4 separate regions of the Homo sapiens genome follow, and all the other regions are linked to region 1. Evidence: promoter capture Hi-C in human tissues and cell types (Jung and others, 2019). All regions are on one chromosome and are shown on one strand. Each heading gives the region's core, a stretch centred on a gene start or on the middle of the fragment in contact. The rest is flanking DNA. Distances are from core to core; before and after follow the strand shown. Region 1 holds the start of ELAVL3 (ELAV like RNA binding protein 3). Region 2 overlaps SMARCA4 (SWI/SNF related BAF chromatin remodeling complex subunit ATPase 4). Region 3 has its middle 4.3 kb from the start of ZNF69. Region 4 holds the start of SPC24 (SPC24 component of NDC80 kinetochore complex).

What was found. The method cuts DNA at HindIII sites, captures the fragments that hold promoters and counts their contacts. A contact is called where the count stands out against the background at its distance.
Region 2: a contact is called between a fragment that was not itself captured here and the fragment with the promoter of ELAVL3 in region 1, in 2 of the 25 tissues and cell types used here (aorta and spleen).
Region 3: a contact is called between a fragment that was not itself captured here and the fragment with the promoter of ELAVL3 in region 1, in 4 of the 25 tissues and cell types used here (dorsolateral prefrontal cortex, hippocampus, lymphoblastoid cells and 1 more).
Region 4: a contact is called between the fragment with the promoter of SPC24 here and the fragment with the promoter of ELAVL3 in region 1, in 4 of the 25 tissues and cell types used here (dorsolateral prefrontal cortex, lymphoblastoid cells, mesenchymal stem cells and 1 more).

What each region holds. Positions count from the first base shown.
Region 1 is chr19:11,478,550-11,482,731 of GRCh38, forward strand. It overlaps ELAVL3 (ELAV like RNA binding protein 3), which reads right to left and starts at 2,497. Exons shown (of 7, transcript NM_001420.4): 1 at 2,051-2,497. The coding sequence starts at 2,059. RefSeq lists silencers at 1,015-1,209, 3,584-3,833, 3,864-4,182. The HindIII fragment of the contact is 31,814 bases long and covers 1-4,182 here.
Region 2 is chr19:11,023,850-11,028,031 of GRCh38, forward strand. SMARCA4 (SWI/SNF related BAF chromatin remodeling complex subunit ATPase 4) reads left to right here. Exons shown (of 35, transcript NM_003072.5): 21 at 482-589; 22 at 1,573-1,659; 23 at 2,451-2,497; 24 at 3,935-4,101. Among named protein-coding and RNA genes, the nearest start is that of LDLR, 64 kb to the right of the region's middle. The HindIII fragment of the contact is 3,199 bases long and covers 1-3,143 here.
Region 3 is chr19:11,881,350-11,885,531 of GRCh38, forward strand. No RefSeq gene overlaps it. Among named protein-coding and RNA genes, the nearest start is that of ZNF69, 4.3 kb to the right of the region's middle. RefSeq lists an enhancer at 1-151. The HindIII fragment of the contact is 6,745 bases long and covers 1-4,182 here.
Region 4 is chr19:11,153,327-11,157,508 of GRCh38, forward strand. SPC24 (SPC24 component of NDC80 kinetochore complex) reads right to left here and starts at 2,456. Exons shown (of 5, transcript NM_182513.4): 1 at 2,291-2,456. The coding sequence starts at 2,450. RefSeq lists a silencer at 2,413-2,572. The HindIII fragment of the contact is 16,265 bases long and covers 1,398-4,182 here.

The DNA of each region.
Region 1 (4,182 bases), core at 1,247-3,746:
GGAGGGTTAGGGAAGCTTCCCATTCTCTCCAGTGCTTCTTCTAAGTCTCCCCCGACTTTTGGTTTCTCTCTCCCTCTTTCTTCCTCTGTTTCCCTCTCTTCTCCACTGTCCTGCCCTCTCTCTGAACCGTTCTGTGTCCCTGGCCTCATCACTCTCTCTTCCTCTTTTCCACCATCGCACATACATCTGACGTATGGGTTTTGCAGTGAACACACCTGAGGCCACTTTTTTCTTAAAACCTCCTGTGTCTGACCCCCACGGCCCCCAGCTGCGGCCCCTGGCCCCAGTCACAGTGACAGATGCCTGGATACCGGCGACAATAGGGCATTGAGTGGCTATGCATGGTGAGGCTGGGCTACCACGTGGTGCTGACTGAGCCTCCTACTTCTGGGCCCTTCTTCAATGCAGGGTCCTCCTGGTCTTAATTTGTCACCTCTCTTCCTCCCAGCCTGTCCCCATGATACATCTCTGCCCCAGGGCTCGCTCACTGGAGAACCTAGGTCCTCAAGGCCCTTGTGTGACCTCTGACCACACCCTCTTTCCCTTTGTGCATTAGTTTCCTTTTTCAAATGAGAGAACCGATCAGAGGACGCTTAGGAGATGCTGGACTGTTGCGGGAGTTCTGAGGTCCTCAGGAGGCCACACTCCAGTTCCCAGACCTGGGTGAACAGCACGAGGCCCAGAGAGGGAAAGGAACGGCCTGAGGTCACACAGCAGGTGAGCCAGGCCTCCGGGACCTCATTTCTCAGAGCCAGGTGGGCGGGTCCCAGGGTCCAGGAGGGGAGAGGCTTAGGCATGGAGGGAGCGCCAATCATGCCCCCACCCCCAGTGCTAGCCACGACTCGAAAAAGGGGCCCGGAAAGAGACACAATGCACAGAGACACACACGCAGAGACGGAGAGATAGGAAGAGTGGAAGAGGGAGGCCCAGGCGCCGGGACCAGACAAAGGACGCGCGGCGGCGCGGGGAGCGGAGTCGCGCGGCAGGGGCGGGGGTGGAGCCGGGGTGGGGCTATAACTGGCCAGCCCCGCCCCCGGGATACGCCCGGGCTGCCGAGTGGGAATCCGAGGGCTCGGGCGAGGCCGGGCCCCCGGGGCCCTGGGGGCGGGGCCTAGATGGGCGTGCCCGGGCGTGGCCAGGCAGGGCGTGGCAGGGCGGGAGGGGCTGCGCGCTCGGGAGCTGACCAGCTCCGTGGCTGCTGAAAGCACCGAGCGCGGGGCTAGCGGTGCGGGCGAGCAGGCGGGCGGGCCGCGCTCAAGGTCACCTCGCGGCCCAGAGCCTTGGCGAGGTGGGGAGCCTGGACCTGGCCTAAGGGGGCTGTCTCGGCCTCCCACCCCATCTCCCGGGGGGCGGAGACCCGGGAGCCCAGAGGTGCCCCCCCAACCCGCGGGCCCTCCTCTCCCCTCCCCCTCCCCGCAGCCCGAGGCGCCCGCGCGAGGCTGCGGCCCGCGAAGAAGCGCCGAGAAACAAAGGGACGCGGCAGCAGCGGCGGCGGGCCCGCGGGGCCTCCGGGCGCGCCCCCTCCTCTCCCCTCCCCGCTTGCCGCAAGGTCGACGGGCTCGAGGACGAGACGCCCGCCTCCCGGGTGCGGCCGAGGCCCGGGGCGCGCGATCCGACGCCACCCGCTTTCCCAGGGCTCTCGGGGACGCTTTGTCGCTTTGGCTTGGCCCAGCACCAGTGATCGGGCCCTGCGTTTGCCTGGGCGGCCTGCGGGGTCTGGGCCTGGATGGAGGAAGCATCCTTAGCCGCCGCGGCCCCTCCCCCATCAGGCCTGCTGGAGAGGGGGCAATCCCGCCTCCAGGGCGGCGTCGGACGCCTCCCGAATCGCAGTCAGTCTCCCTAAGGCCCTCTCAGACCAAGCTCTAAGCGCCCTCAGCACTCTGGGCGCGGCCCTGCCCACTCTCAGGCCCCGAGGCTTGGTCCTACCCCCCCAACCCGGGCCTAGCTAGGCCTGGTCCTACCCCCCCCGCCGCACCCGCCCAATCTCCGCGGAGCCTGGGCCCAACTCCTCCCCGTCCCGATTCCCTTTCGGCGACAGGGGAATACCTACAGTGACCATTCTTGTGTGCCCGGCGGGCGCGGTCCGTGTTGAGGGGGGCTCCGGGGGTGGTGCACTCCTAGGGGGGCGCCCGATGCTCACGCTGGGGTCCCGCCCGGGCGGCCTCTGGTGCGGCCGCTGCAGATGTGGCGATGAAGGCGGCGGCTCCCTCGAGGGCCAGGGACGGGCCCGAACCCGGGGATGCGCGCGCGGATGGCCGGGCCCCGGGGTGGCCTGCGGGCGGCAGGGGATGGAAAGAGGGAGCGGGCGCGGGGTTGAGGACGCCCCCTGCGCGGCCCCGCGGGGCCCGGGGAGGTTGCGCTTCCCGACAGAGATCGCGGCGCTCTGCCTTTCGCCGCCGCCCCTCGGTCGGTCCTGTCCGGTCCCGTGTGTTCAAGTCCTCTCCCCTCGCCCACCCTCCCTCCCTCCCTCCGGCCCGCGCTGCGCGCTCCGCGCTCTGGACCGCGCCGCCGCCGCCCCCAGCCCTTTATAGCAGCAGCTGCCAGCGCCGGCGTCGCTCATTGGCTGCGGCGACCGAGCTCCGCCTCCTCGCGGCTCCCGACGGCGCGGCAGGTGGAAGTGAGCGCGCACTGGTCGGGACTCTGAATCCCCCAAAAGCGCATCCTAGGTGCTCGGGTTGCCAGATTTGGGCCCTCCTTCCCTCGAGGCCCTTGCTTCCTACCCTGGCACCCCTTCTTGGGCTGGCTTTCGGGCCAGGAGACGGGCTCCCCTCCTCCGTCCAGCTCCTAGAGCTGGAGGAGCCAACAGAGCGAGGAGGTATTAGTGGCCTGAATATGCGACCTTCCAGAGGTGTTGTCCACTGAGGGAACTGGACAGGGGATCAGGAACCAATATTTTAGTAGGCAGAGGCCTGGGTCCCCAGATTTGGAGGCACCAGTGTAGACCACCTCAAGACCACGGGGGAGGGTGGCTACTGTGGCCCTAGTCTTCTGCAGAAGGAGACTGGGACGCTGTTGGTTTTGAGTGAGCTGGATCCTTCTAGGGTTCAAAAGGTAAGGACTGGCACTCCCCAGTGCAAGGAAACTCCGCACTGCTCCGAAGGGGGTGAAAAGGTTTGGGGCTCAGTGTTCTGGACAATCATCGCTGGAGCCATGCAGCTCTGGGAAACCACGGATCCTTCTTGGACCCCACAGAACTGGGGTGGGTGGATCTGCCACATAAATGTCCTGGCTTTCTAGGCTCGTGATTGGTCCTCCTGACTGTGGAGTCATGCTCGCTCTCTGCTAGGGGGAACCTGGCCTCTCTCTAAGGCGTTGGGGGTGGCGCAGCCTCCTTTGGTGCGCGGGCGCCGGTGCATGTTTACGTCGGGGCGCGGGAACTAGCACACACTGGGGCGGGGTCGCCAGGGCGTGAGGCTTCAGCACCACAGACAGCAATCCGACAGTCCGGTCGAGGGCGCTGCCGGCGAGGTAGCCCAGACCCCCTAACTGGAGAGCGGCAGTCCCCACCCAATCCTCGTTCCTGCACGCCCTTTAGGCTCCAGACTGTCAGAGAGCGCCACCAGCGAGGAGAGCCTAATTTGCCCAATCAGGGGCGGCCCTTGAGATAACCAGTTACTGGAAGATGCCCTAGAGATCGAGCCAATGGGAGTGCGCGCACCAGGGGATGCTGCCACGCCTGGAAAGGGCAGGCCAATCGCAGTGGCCCGCGCAATAGGGGCGGTGGCGGTGCAGATCCCCGGGTGGCCCCTCTTGGGCTCGCCGGGGCGACCTGGCTGCGGGCGCTAGGGGCCCCAAGCGATGGTCTGTTCCCCACCCCGTGTTCCTCCCGGTTTCCGTCATCGGAAACTGAGCTAGGAGGGGGGCTGCTCCTGGGCGCGCGGACCCCGCTGCGGTTCCCATGGAAACCTGCCGGCTCCGGCAGTGCGGGGAGAGTGGAGGGGACCTGCCTCGCGGGGGGAGGGAGCTCGCGGGGGCGGCCCCAGCGGCCGGACTCGCTCATCCTTGCCGATTCTTCTGTCCCCGGCTGGGGTAGCCCCCCGGTCCGCAGCAGGAACTGAGGCATAGCTGGGGCCCCGCCTCATCCCCCGAACTGGTGAGGAACCGGCGGGGCCAATCTGCGCGTGGCGCCACAGGGCTCCCCCGGGCACGTGCCTGAGCTCGCGGCTGCGGTCCCCAGGGTCA
Region 2 (4,182 bases), core at 294-2,793, 460 kb before region 1:
CACAAAATCCCACTTCCTGTCAGGGGGCCAGGTGCCTGTGCGGGCTCTCCTGGCCACATCAGGAGGGGCCGTGGGCTTGGGGTTGCCCCCCGGCCCCCCATCATGGCTCTGGGTTTTCAAGGCCTGCTGCAGCCACACCCCTGGGCCCAGTTCCCACAGCAAGACCCATGGACTCGGGGTCCCCGGCTGCAGTTGTCCCTCTTGGCTCTTTGTTTCCTGGCTGGCTGTAGAGAGGCCCCCAGAAGATGGCTGGGGGGCCCTTTCTGGCCCAGTAACCCTCTGGTATCTCTGCCTGGTGCTTCCTCTCATTGCCCAGGTCTCCCCTCTTCTCCCCAGCTGTGAGGGTCTCCTCACCCACACCCCAGTGTGCTCTGGTCAGAGCTCATATGACAGGGCCGAGGGGGTCAGAGCTGGGTTCGGATGGGGGGAGTCAGGCCTCAAGCCACCTTGGGCCCTCGTGAGCATTATGTGTCCCCTGCAGGTGGAGTACGTCATCAAGTGCGACATGTCTGCGCTGCAGCGAGTGCTCTACCGCCACATGCAGGCCAAGGGCGTGCTGCTGACTGATGGCTCCGAGAAGGACAAGAAGGTGGGCCCCAGAGTCCCCCAACTGCATTCCCCACTGGGTGTCCAAGGCCGGCAGCGTGGCAGGCAGAGCAGAGCGTGCTCTGACCATCGGGTCATGATCTGGTCATGATCCCCAGGGCATCTGGCCAGCCCTGGTTATGATGGCTGGTGGCTTGTGTCAGGACACACTGACTCAGCTGCCAGTGGCTTCTCCTTTGCCTATGAAACACTGGCTCCTTCTGCAATTGGCAGCCTGGGCCCAGCACTAACCCCAGCAGGGTTAGAGTGTTCTAGAATGCCCCCCTTCTCTGTTATTAAGTGAAAGGAAGGGAGCGGGCTGTCTCCTGCAGGGGCTGCTCTGAGAATCCCAGGCCCCAGGCCCCACCTGCCTGGCTCTCCTCACCAGCAGTGAAATTATCCTCCCAGGAAATGCACCAGACCCCTTGATTCTGCCCCCAAGGCCTTGACCTCGGCCTGGCTTCCCCGAGACGTTGTGTCTGTGCCCCTTCTCCCCTGAGCTGAGCAGCAGTGTGTTCCCTAGTCCATTCCCAGCCCAGAGCATGCACCCCCCGCCCCGCCCCCACCTCCTTCCTCATCCTGGAGCCCAGGGAGCCCTGAGTCATGGCTCACCCGGCTGAGGCCCTCTTGCCCAGCTGAGACCCTCTAGGGACCCCCACAGTAACAGTGCCCAGAACAAAGCTGGCATCACAAAGCATCGGGGACTCTGCCTCAGCCCTTTGCCAGTCTTGTTTCCGTCCCGTCCTGCTGGCCCTGTCCCTGCCATCTGCCCTCTGCTGTGCCAGGCAGTCATTTGTTTCCCAGGGCTTGTTGGGGGCCTCCGGGCCTCCAGCCTGCCATCTCCTCACTCCCAATTGCTGTGCCAAAAGCCACTCTTCCCCACTAGAGCGTCCCCATGGCCCTTCTCCCAACACCCACCCATCCACCAAGCCCACCCCACCCCAGGAGGGCAAGACCCCATTTGGGTCCCTCTCATCTGCCTTCCAGGGCAAAGGCGGCACCAAGACCCTGATGAACACCATCATGCAGCTGCGGAAGATCTGCAACCACCCCTACATGTTCCAGCACATCGAGGTGAGCCCGCCGCGGCTGGGACGGCTCAGGCCCTGCTGTCTGCTGAGCTCCTAGGCAGAGCTGGCTTCTCCTCGACAGCTCTTTAAAAACAGACTCGAATATTTTCATTAGGTAATGCCTGTACATCTGTCTCTCATTTGGTCTTCGCTTCACCAGTGCTTACGGGAAGAATCCCAGCAGTTAGGGCGCAACGTGCGATAGGAATATAGGGCCCTGAAAGCTTGCCCTCAGAGAGCAGGAGCGTTTGGAGACTTCTCTGGGGATGTGTCCCCCCACAGTGGGGTCCTGCTGCGTCTCTTTGGCTCACTGGCTTTTCTCACGTTGCGGGGCGTCAAGAGTCACCACCGTCTTCAGTGAAGTGTGGGGGAGTCAGAACCCTTTTTGGTCATGGTGGCTTTGAGAATCTGGGTTCTTAGAAGCATGCATATGTTCGTGTTTCTTGGTGTAAAGTGTCAGGGTCGTTGGAGACCGCCTGCTGCCCCGAGAGCCCCTGGGGCTGTCTCAGCACCCTGAGCGTGGCTGTGGCCCCATGACGTCCTCGTGCATTCAGGGTGTGAAGAGTGCTGTATGGGATGTCCTTTCCTTCGTTGGAGGAGTGTGAGGGAAAGGATGTCAGTGGACTAAGAAAGATGGTTTTGGCATCTGTGTCTGGTCTCAGAGCCGCCGTGGGCCCGTGCCGAGCACACAGTGTGGGGGCTTTGTCCTCTGAGCACGAGCGGTGTGTGCGGACCGCAGCGGGGCCCGGTGGCCTGCTCCTGCCTGTCACTGACCCCTCTCTCCTTGCCTTGCAGGAGTCCTTTTCCGAGCACTTGGGGTTCACTGGCGGCATTGTCCAAGGGTGAGAAGCTTCCCAACTGGATGGGGTGGGCAGGTGGTCCACCCAGAGGTTTTCTGTCGTTTTGTTGGCTTTATTGCTGCTGTTATGTTGTCCAATTTCAAAGGCAGAAAATTAGAAAATACAGAAGAATCCAAAGCAAATAATACAAATCTTTTTTTTTTTTTTTTTTTGAGGTGGAGTTTTGCTCTTGTTGCCCAGGCTGGAGTGCAGTGACACAATCTCGGCTCACTGCAACCTCTGCCTCCTGGGTTCAAATGATTCTCCTGCCTCAGCCTCCCGAGTAGCTGGGATTACCGGCACCTGCCACCACCCAGCTAATTTTTTGTATTTTTAGTAGAGATGGGGTTTCACCATGTTGACCAGGCTGATCTTGAACTCCTGACCTCAAGTGATCCACCCGCCTTGGCCTCCCAAAGTGCTGGAATTACAGGTGTGAGCCACCGCGCCCGGCCCCATTATACAAATCTTTAGTGCTTGGAGAGCTGACCACTATTAACCCCAAGAGACAGGATTCCTGAGGCAGACCTGGCTTACAGATCCCACTCTGCCGCCTCCAAGCTCTGTGACTCTAGACAGCTTTCTTAACCTCTCTGAGCCTAAACTCTGCTCACTAGTACAGAGGCACTCTTTACATCATGTGGGTGTTTTCTATAGCACCCTTTGTAAGGGGCAGCCCAGACTCCTTTAAGCCCCTAATGGATGTGGATGCTGTGTCTAGATTTTCACCATTGCAAAGAACCTTGCTAAAAGCATTCTTCCAGCTAAAGCCTCCATTCAATTCCCCTGGGGTAGTAAGCCATTTGCAAGAAGAGAGGCGCCTAATGAAAACATCACAAATTCTTTTTGATGTGTTTTTTTATACTGAGTTGTGGAACAGGGTCCTGTACACCTGGCTTCAAGGCTGGGAGGCCTGGCTTGGACATGTGGTCAGCCATATCACGTCGTCCCCCTGCCAGCCTCAGTGTCCACATCTACAACACTTGGGGTTTGGCTGGAGAGAACATGAGAAGCCGAGGTGGCCCTTCCTTCTGGGTCTAGCAGAGCATGGGTGTCTCCAGTGTGGCATTTGCTCCTGGGGCTTCTTTATCGGGCAAGGGGACAAGGTCTGGCTTCCCGGAGCATCCCTGTTCCAGCCCCGTGTTGTGCCGGCCATGTGACTCACAGCTCCTCTCATTTTCATGAGTGTCTGGGTTTGACGAGAAATACATGTGCCACCCTGGTGATACGCCTCCCCAGCGAGGGTGGCCGGGCTTATTTCAGTTGGGGGAAATGGCTTTGCTGAAGCTTTGGGTGGGTGACGTCTGCTTAGGATGCATGTCTGTGCCCTTGAACCCGGCGCCTGGCCTGGAGGCGGGCGATGCACCTCCTGCCTTACCTGCCTGCAGGGTTCCAGGTTTAACATCCTGCGCCTTCTCTCCTGCCTCCTCCACACTCCAGGCTGGACCTGTACCGAGCCTCGGGTAAATTTGAGCTTCTTGATAGAATTCTTCCCAAACTCCGAGCAACCAACCACAAAGTGCTGCTGTTCTGCCAAATGACCTCCCTCATGACCATCATGGAAGATTACTTTGCGTATCGCGGCTTTAAATACCTCAGGCTTGATGGTGAGTATGAGCCAGTGAGGCGTTTCTTACAGGGTTTTGTTGTTGTGGCTGCCACAGAAGCTCCTCACTGGCATTCCCTCC
Region 3 (4,182 bases), core at 608-3,107, 400 kb after region 1:
CGGCCAGAGTGGATGAAGCGAAAGAAGGGTGCAAGGAACCTCCAGCAGGTGGAGCTAAAGGATAGTGGAATTGAGCCTTAGCCACACTTCCAGTGAGGGATAGGCAAAAGACCTCCTAATATGAGGGGTTGAGCCACAAGGAACCCCCCAAATAGGCAAGAGATCCTTAATTTGAGAGGCTGAGCCACAAGGAACCCCCAAAATAGGCAAGAGATCCTTAATATGAGGGGTTGAGCCACAGCAAGCCCCCCTAGGCAAGAGATTCCTATCACGAGGGATTGAGCCTAGCCAGGACCCAGTATAGGAAATATTACAAGCAAAAAAGACAAAGTTAGCAACAAAGATATCCCCCCTAATAGTCCCCTAGGTCTCATGTTAAAACATTAGAAAGATAATGAAAAGACTAAACATAAGAAAAAGCAATTAGTGATAAAATATTGCTGTTCCATTTAGACTCAAGAACGAATCCTTGAACCCTTAGTTTTCTGGCCAGAATTTAAGTCGAATGAGGGATGGATTTGTGAACTTCTAATAGAAAATGTTGCTAGTAGAAGACCTGCCTCCTGAGAAGAAACAAATTATGCCCTATGTTAGTTGCAAGGAGTTGTCCTTTCCCCTCCTCCAAGGATTGAAAGGAGCAAGTCAAAAACTAATATTTGGAGGAAAATGAGTTGTACATGTGCCCTATTAAGATAGAACCATCTTTAATGAAAAAGACAGTGAAGGAAGGGGCTTGGGGGATCCTAGCAAAAAGAACAACTCGCAAGATCCCCTAGACCATTCCCCACCTAATACCCAACCCTTCCCCTCAGGCATCGCCCAGTAAGTCTGTTCTTCCCCAGCCTAAGTCCCTCTCCCCTAAAGAACTCCAAGCTCCTAATTCACCAGATGGCTTTTGCCAGGCTAGCAACATGAAGGATCTGCCGCAACATGTTGTCAGCGTTGTCTGGCCCATAGTGCACCCCTGCAGCGGCAAAGCCCATGCTCCTGCCCACTGGCTGGTCCAAGGTCCTGGCACTGTATTGACGGCAGCTCTGCATGACATGCGAGCCAGGCCCCAGCCTATGCCCCATGCAAACTACATTATAGGATATCTGCCTTACTTTGCTGAGGCTAAGTAATACGGGGCTTCAGCGATGGCTCCAAGCAGCCTGGCATCCCCGCAGCTAAGTTTCCTGAGCAAGAAGTAGATAATCTTTCAGCGGATATATCCACTAGCATTTATTATAGTCAGGCCAGTGTTAAAAGTGAAAATATCCACCAGAAAAGAACTCTGATTCTTTAAAGTCACCTATGTTAAAATGTACCACCAAAAAAGAATTACATGTGTATAAATATGAGGCTATTCTGTTAAAAATGATAGTTTAATGTTACTAGTAATTTGCTTAACCTAACAAGTTTCTTAACGAAAGATCCAAATCTAAAAAGGAAGCACACATGTTTAGATTTAACTGATTACCATACAAATGTCCGGCCAAACTTAAGAGAAACCCCCTTCAAAAATGATTAAAGGAAAAAGGATTCAACAGATGTTCAATAATAAATAGAGAAGTTCCTAGAGAAATAAAATTTAAAAATTGTTTAATAGTTTACCCAAATTTGTAAGCTGTTTGCACTTAGTCAAGCTTTAAAGTAACTGCAAAGGAACCATCTATACTAATCTATATTGATTCTAAATACACCTTTATCGTGGCTCATACATTTAGAAAATTTCAGACAATAATAAAGGTCAAAGCCTTGTTCATGAAGAGTTAATAACCCAAGTGTTAAATAACCTTCAGTTACCAGAAAAAAAAAAAAAGCTATTTTCCACGTCCCCAGGCACCAAAAATCCTATCTTTCAAGAGTTAAGAAAATAACCTAGCAAATCAGATAATCCGAACCAGCTGCCGTTTCTCCTGTAGGCACTGAAGGGAATTCAAATGTTATTTAAACCTCTTATGAAAGAAGTCCTATCCCACCTAAATTAGAGGACCCATTAAAGACCTCAAGCTATGTATAGCACAGTTAAAGTTTATATGTGTATGAAAATGTACATCCTTAGCCAAACAAGTCTAGAAACTTAGTTGCCATAACTCAAATGTCTTCTGTCTTCCTATTAATCCAAACTACCTCTCAAAGCAATCCACTGCCAACATTCCTACATACTTGGTTTATCTTCCACTTTCTCTTCCCTCAAAACTCACAATTTTCCAGTACAGGTGCGGCTCCTGGAGTTCCCAGTGCGTCAACACCGGCCTGAGGAGCTGGCCTAGTACTTCCCACCATTGAAACTGCAGTCTGGACAGCAGAGAAAGGATAGACCCATCACACCCGAGTCAAGAAAGCACCGCCACCCCCAAAGTCGTAGGCCATTATTCCAGGGGAAAACCCCCTCAAACTAAAGCTAAGAAAAATTTAACCTCTTACATCTATTCTATTACTCTTTCTTCTTTTCCCCTTCCAATGCTGACCACCTTGTCATTAATGTAACTCAATCAAACTCACCCCAAGTTATCACGTTTAATGCTATGTCTAGTCATACCCTGTAAAGATCTCCAAAGTCAAAGACAAGTCTCAGCCTCAGAAAAGTATCTCTGCCCCTTTAAGGTGAAAGGCCCCCCCTACCAAGACTCTTGTTCCTTAACAAATATAAGAAAACAAGTCTGTCATAGCTAGAATGATGTCCTATGGACAACCAAATGTCAAGGCTAGACCTCATCAGCAGGTGGCTGTATATCCTTAAAACCATACATTCATTTCACTAAAAAAAGCACCTCCCCAATTGCCAGTATAATCAATGTAATCCCATACAAATTTCCACCTCTACTGACCCTAAACCTACTTTAAGTCACTTCTATGGAACAGGAGCCAACTTGGCCAGCACAGACCTCATAAGATCTTTCGAAATGCGTTTTATTAATCCTTCATTCTCTTCACCCCCTTCCTTCTCTTCTCCTTCTAAGCTTTCTTCTAATCAGACTGCCACCTGTTTTCTACCTAATGATACTACTAAAGTAAATATTGTAGAAGTAAAAGATTTAAGACAAACCCTAGCAATTAAAACAGGATATCAAGATGTAAATACCTGGTTGGAATGGATTCAATATTCCGTCCGCACATTGAACAAAAGCAATTGTTACGCTTGTATGCATGGCAGACTAGAGGCCCAGACTGTTTCCTTTCCACTAGGATAGCCCTTCAGCCGACCAGGCATAGGCTGTATGGTAGCTCTTTTCCAAAATTCCACAGCCTGGGGCAACAAATCATGCCAAGCTCTCTCTCTGCTATATCCCGAAGTCCAACAACCTGCAGGCCAGCCCCCAAAGGCCATTCAGCTTCCTTCTCCTGACGTCAATTTCACCTCATGTCTCTCACGACGAGGGGAGAATCTGGCGTTCCTTAGAAGCTTAACAAGATGCAATAAGCTTAAGCCCTTCCAAAAACTTACCCATCAGTCTGCCCTTAGTCATCCTCAAGCAGATGTATGGTGGTATTGTAGTGGACCTTTACTGGATACTCTGCCAAGTAACTGGAGCGGCACTTGCGCTCTTGTCCAATTGGCGATCCCTTTCACACTGGCATTTCATCAACCAAAAAAAAAGAAAAGCCACAACACCAAAAAATAAGAGAAGCCCCTTATAAGTCTTTTGACTCTCAAGTTTACATAAAGGCCATTAGAGTCCCATGGGGAGTGCCTAACAAGTTCAAAACCTGAGACCAAATAACTGCAAGATTTAAACCCATATTTCCCCGAATAACTATTAATAAAAATGTAGCTTCGATAAATTACATCTATTATAATTAGCAGCAGTTTATGAATTACACCAAGGATCTTATCAAAAAACAGCTGACCAGTTAAGGCCTACTAGCCAAATAGCTTAAGAAAACAGAATCACTTGACTGGGCGCGGTGGCTCATGCCTGTAATCCCAGCACTTTGGGAGGCCAAGGTGGGCGGATCACAAGGTCAGGAGATCGAGACCATCCTGGCTAACATGGTGAAACCCCCGTCTCTACTAAAAAATACAAAAAAAGTATCCGGGCGTAGTGGCGGGCACCTGTAGTCCCAGCTACTGGGGAGGCTGAGGCAGGAGAATGGCGTGAACCCGGGAGGCAGAGCTTGCAGTGAGACAATATGGTGCCACTGCACTCCAGCCTGGGCCACGAAGTGAGACTCCATCTCAAAAAATAAAAACCAGAA
Region 4 (4,182 bases), core at 1,206-3,705, 330 kb before region 1:
CTGTAGTCCCAGCTACTCGGGAGGCTGAGGCAGAATGGTGTGAACCCGGGAGACGGAGCTCGCAGTGAGCCAAGATCACGCCACTGCACTCCAGCCTGGGTGACAGAGCGAGACTCCATATCAAAAAAATAAAAAAAAGAAAATAGAGTCTTGGGCTGGGCGCAGTGGCTCATGCCTATATTCCCAGCACTTTGGGAGACCGAGGCGGGCGGATCACGAGGTCAAGAGTTTGAGACCAGCCTGGCCAACATGGTGAAACCCCATCTTTACTAAGAATACAAAAATTAGCTGGGCATGTTGGCACGTGCCTGTAATCCCAGCTACTTGGCAGGCTGAGGCAGGAGAATTGCTTGAACCCAGGAGGCATAGGTCGCAGTGAGCAGAGATCACGCTGCTGTACTCCAGCCTGAGCAGCGGAGTAAGACTGTCCTGGGAAAAAAAAAAAAAAGAAGAAAATATGGCTGGGCACGGTGGCTCATGCCTGTAATCCCAGCACTTTGGGAGTCCGAGACGTGTGGATCATGAGGTCAGGAGATCGAGACCATCCTGGCTAACACGGTGAAACCCCGTCTCTACTAAAAAAATATATATAAAAATATTAGCCGGGCGTGGTGGCGGGCACCTGTAGTCCCAGCTACTCGGGAGGCTGAGGCAGGAGAATGGCGTGAACCCAGGAGACGCAGCTTGCAGTGAGCCAAGATTGCGCCACTGCACTCCAGCCTGGGTGACAGAGCAAGACTCCGTCTCAAGGAAAAAAAAAATACAGTCTTGAAGAGATATTTGGGCACCCGTGTTCATAGCAGCGTTATTCAACACAGCCAAAAGGTGGATACAACCCAAGTGCCCATGGATGGATGAATGAATAAACACAATGCGGTCCATCCTTCTATATCATGAAATATGACTCAGCTTTAAAATGGACGGAAATTCTGGCCAGGCGTAGTGGCTCACCCCTGTCATCCCAGCACTTTGGGAGGCCGAGGTGGGCGATCACTTGAGGCTGGGAGTTTAAGACCAGCCTAGCCAACATGGTGAAACCCCATCTCTACTAAAAATACAAACATTAGCTGGGCATGGTGGCGCATAAGTGTGTTCTCAGCTACTTGGGAGGCTGAGGTGGGAGGATCACTTAAGTCTGGGAGGCAGAGGTTGCAGTGAGCCAAGATCACACCACTGCATTCAAGCCAGGGTAATGGAGCGAGGCTCTGTCTCACAGTAAGTACACAAAATGAAAGGAAATTCTGATACAGGCTATGACATGGATGAACCTGGAGGACATTATGCTCCATGAAATAAGCCAGACACAAAAGGGTAGATATTGTATGATTCCACTAGGAAGGGTAGATATTGTACAATTCCTCGTAAGGTTCCTAGAGGAGTCAAATTTGAGACAGAAAGTAGAACCCTGGTGGGTGCCAGGGTCTGAGAAGGGGATGGGGAGTGAGTGTTTCATGGGGACAGAGCTTCAGTTTGGAAAGATGAGAAAGTTCTGGAGATGGATGATGGTGCTGATGGTTGCACAGCAGTGTGAATGTGCTTAAGGCCACTGAACTGTGCAGTTACAGATAGTGAAGATGGGCCGGACACAGTGGCTCACGTCTGCAGTCCCAGTACTTTGGGAGGCTGAGGCAGGCAGATTACCTGAGGTCAGGAGTTTGAGACCAGCCTGGCCAACGTGGTGACCCCCCGTCTCTACCAAAAATACAAAAATTAGCCGAGTGCGGTGGCAAGCGCCTGTAATCCCAGCTACTCAGGAGGCTGAGGCAGGAGAATAGCTTGAACCCGGGAGGTGGAGGTTGCGGTGAGCCCAGGGCCTGGCAGCAGCAGATGCTCCATAAAACATCTGAATGCCTTCAGGAAGAAGGGATGGGCTATTGTCACAACCATTTGACAAGGAAGGAAGCTGAGGCACAGAGAATTTAAGAAACTCACCTCAAGTCTCACAGCGGACATGGGGATGGGTGCTAGGATTCAAACCCGGAGCTTTGACTCCTGAGCCCCAGTTCAAACCCTGAGACCCCCAGCTCCTGCTCACGGAGAGCTCAGAAGGGGCCAACCCCTCCAGACTCCTATATTTACCACTAAACCCCTGGGGGGTGGGGGATGGTTGCTGTCATAAAGCCGATTTCTCAGATGGTGAAACTAAGGCTCAGAGGGGGCCGTCCCAGGGGGCATAGGGCAGGAGATGGGAGAGTCCAGGAGAGAAGGGGTTTTGAGGTGGGCCTGGTCGCCCCCTCCCAGCACCCGGGCCCCTTCCCCCGTGGGCCCGCGACCACGCTCCGACCCTCACCTCGCAGCTGCTTCTCGGCACCGTCTTGCGTTTCCAGCAGCCGCTCCACCACCTGCTCGTGGCGCCCCAGCAGCCGTCGCTGCTGCGCCTCCGCGCGGTTGGCGCCCAGCAGGCTGAGCAGCCCCTGGCTCACCTCCTCTATGTCGCGGAAGGCGGCCATGACTACGCCAGGCTCCAACCCGCGCAAATTTGACTGTCCGCGGGGCCCGCCCTCTTCCAGAAGAGGTTGCTTTCCATTGGATTTTTTGATACGTCAGTCATAAGCAATGGCCAATAGGCATGGGGAACAGGATCTTAGACTGGGCTAAGCCGCCTTTGGTCTGGCCTGGTGCGCCTGCGACCACTCCTCCGTCAGTCATCGGTGATGACCAATCGGCGCAGGAAGGGGGAGGCTCCGTTATCCTTCCCGATGCGCCTGCGCGGGAGAGAAAGCGGCTGTTTATTTCTCCATAGGTCGAGCGCTTGCTCTGTGCAGGGTGGGGTTCTAACGGCAAAGCAGCGAGCAGCTTCTCCTGGAACTTACATCCTACAGTGTGTGCGTGGGATACACAATAAGCATAGAGAATAAGTAGATTCTATGAGAGGCTGCATAGCAAAATGGCGTCTGCAGCCAGATTTACTGGGTTCGAATCCCAGCGTTGCCACTTACTAGCTGTGTTACCCTGGACAGACTTCACCTCTCTGTGCGGTACTTTCCTCCTTAGTAAAATGAGGGTCATACTAGTGCCTGTGTCAGCGTTGGCGTGAGAATTCTTCTTATTACTTTTTTTTTAGAGACAAGGTATTGCTCTGTCACCCAGGCTGAAGTGCAGTGCCACAATCATAGCTCATTGCAACTTCGACCTCCTGGCCTCCAGCAATCCTCCTGCCTCCGCCTCCCAAAGTGCTGGGATTACAGGCGTGAGCCACCGAGCCCAGCCTGGCGTGATAGTGTCTCCTATTCAGTAGGTGCTATATAGTTGTTTAATGAAACATACATAGAATCCTAGCATGTAGCTGGGTGCAGTGGCTCACGCCTGTAAGTCTGAGCTCTTTGGAAGGCTAAGACAGGAGGATCGCTTGAGCCCTGGAGTTTGAGACTAGCCTGTCTCAAAACAAAACAAAACAAAGAAAAGATCAGTGCTGACTCTAAGGTGCTGGTTCCATGCTAGACACTGGTATTTCTGCAAGAAACAAGATGTTAAGATGGCATCTTTTTTTCTTTCTCTCTCTTTTTTTTTAAGACAGAGTCTCACTCTGTTGCCCAGGCTGGAGTGCAAGGCATTCCAGCCTGCTTCCTGGGTTCAAGGCATTCTCCTGCATCAGCCTCCCGAGTAGCTGGGATTACAGGTGCCCGCCACCGCACCCAGCTGATTTTTTGTATTTTTAGTAGAAACGGGGTTTCATTATGTTGGCCAGGTTGGTCTTGAACTCCTGACCTCGTGATCTGCCTGCCTCAGGCTCCCAAAGTGCTGGGATTATAGGCGTGAGCCACCGCGCCTGGCGTGGCAACATTTTTATGTGTGCTACCACCTAAAGAACATCTCATTGCTTTCCTATGATTTTTTTTTCTTTTCTTTTCTTTTCTTTTTTTTTTTTCTTGAGACAGAGTTTCGCTGTTGTTGCCCAGGCTGGAGTGCAATGGCGCGATCTCAGCTCACTGCAACCACCACCTCCCAGGTTCAAGTGATTCTCCTGCCTCAGCCTCCCGAGTAGCTGGGATTACAGGCATGCGTCACCATGCCCAGCTAATTTTGTATTTTTAGTAGAGACGGGGTTTCTCCATGTTGGTCAGGCTGGTCTTGAACTCCCGACCTCAGGTGATCCACCTGCCTCGGCCTCCCAAAGTGCTGGGATTACAGGCGTAAGCCACTGTGCCCGGCCTTCTTTTCTTCCTTCTTTTTTTTTTTTTT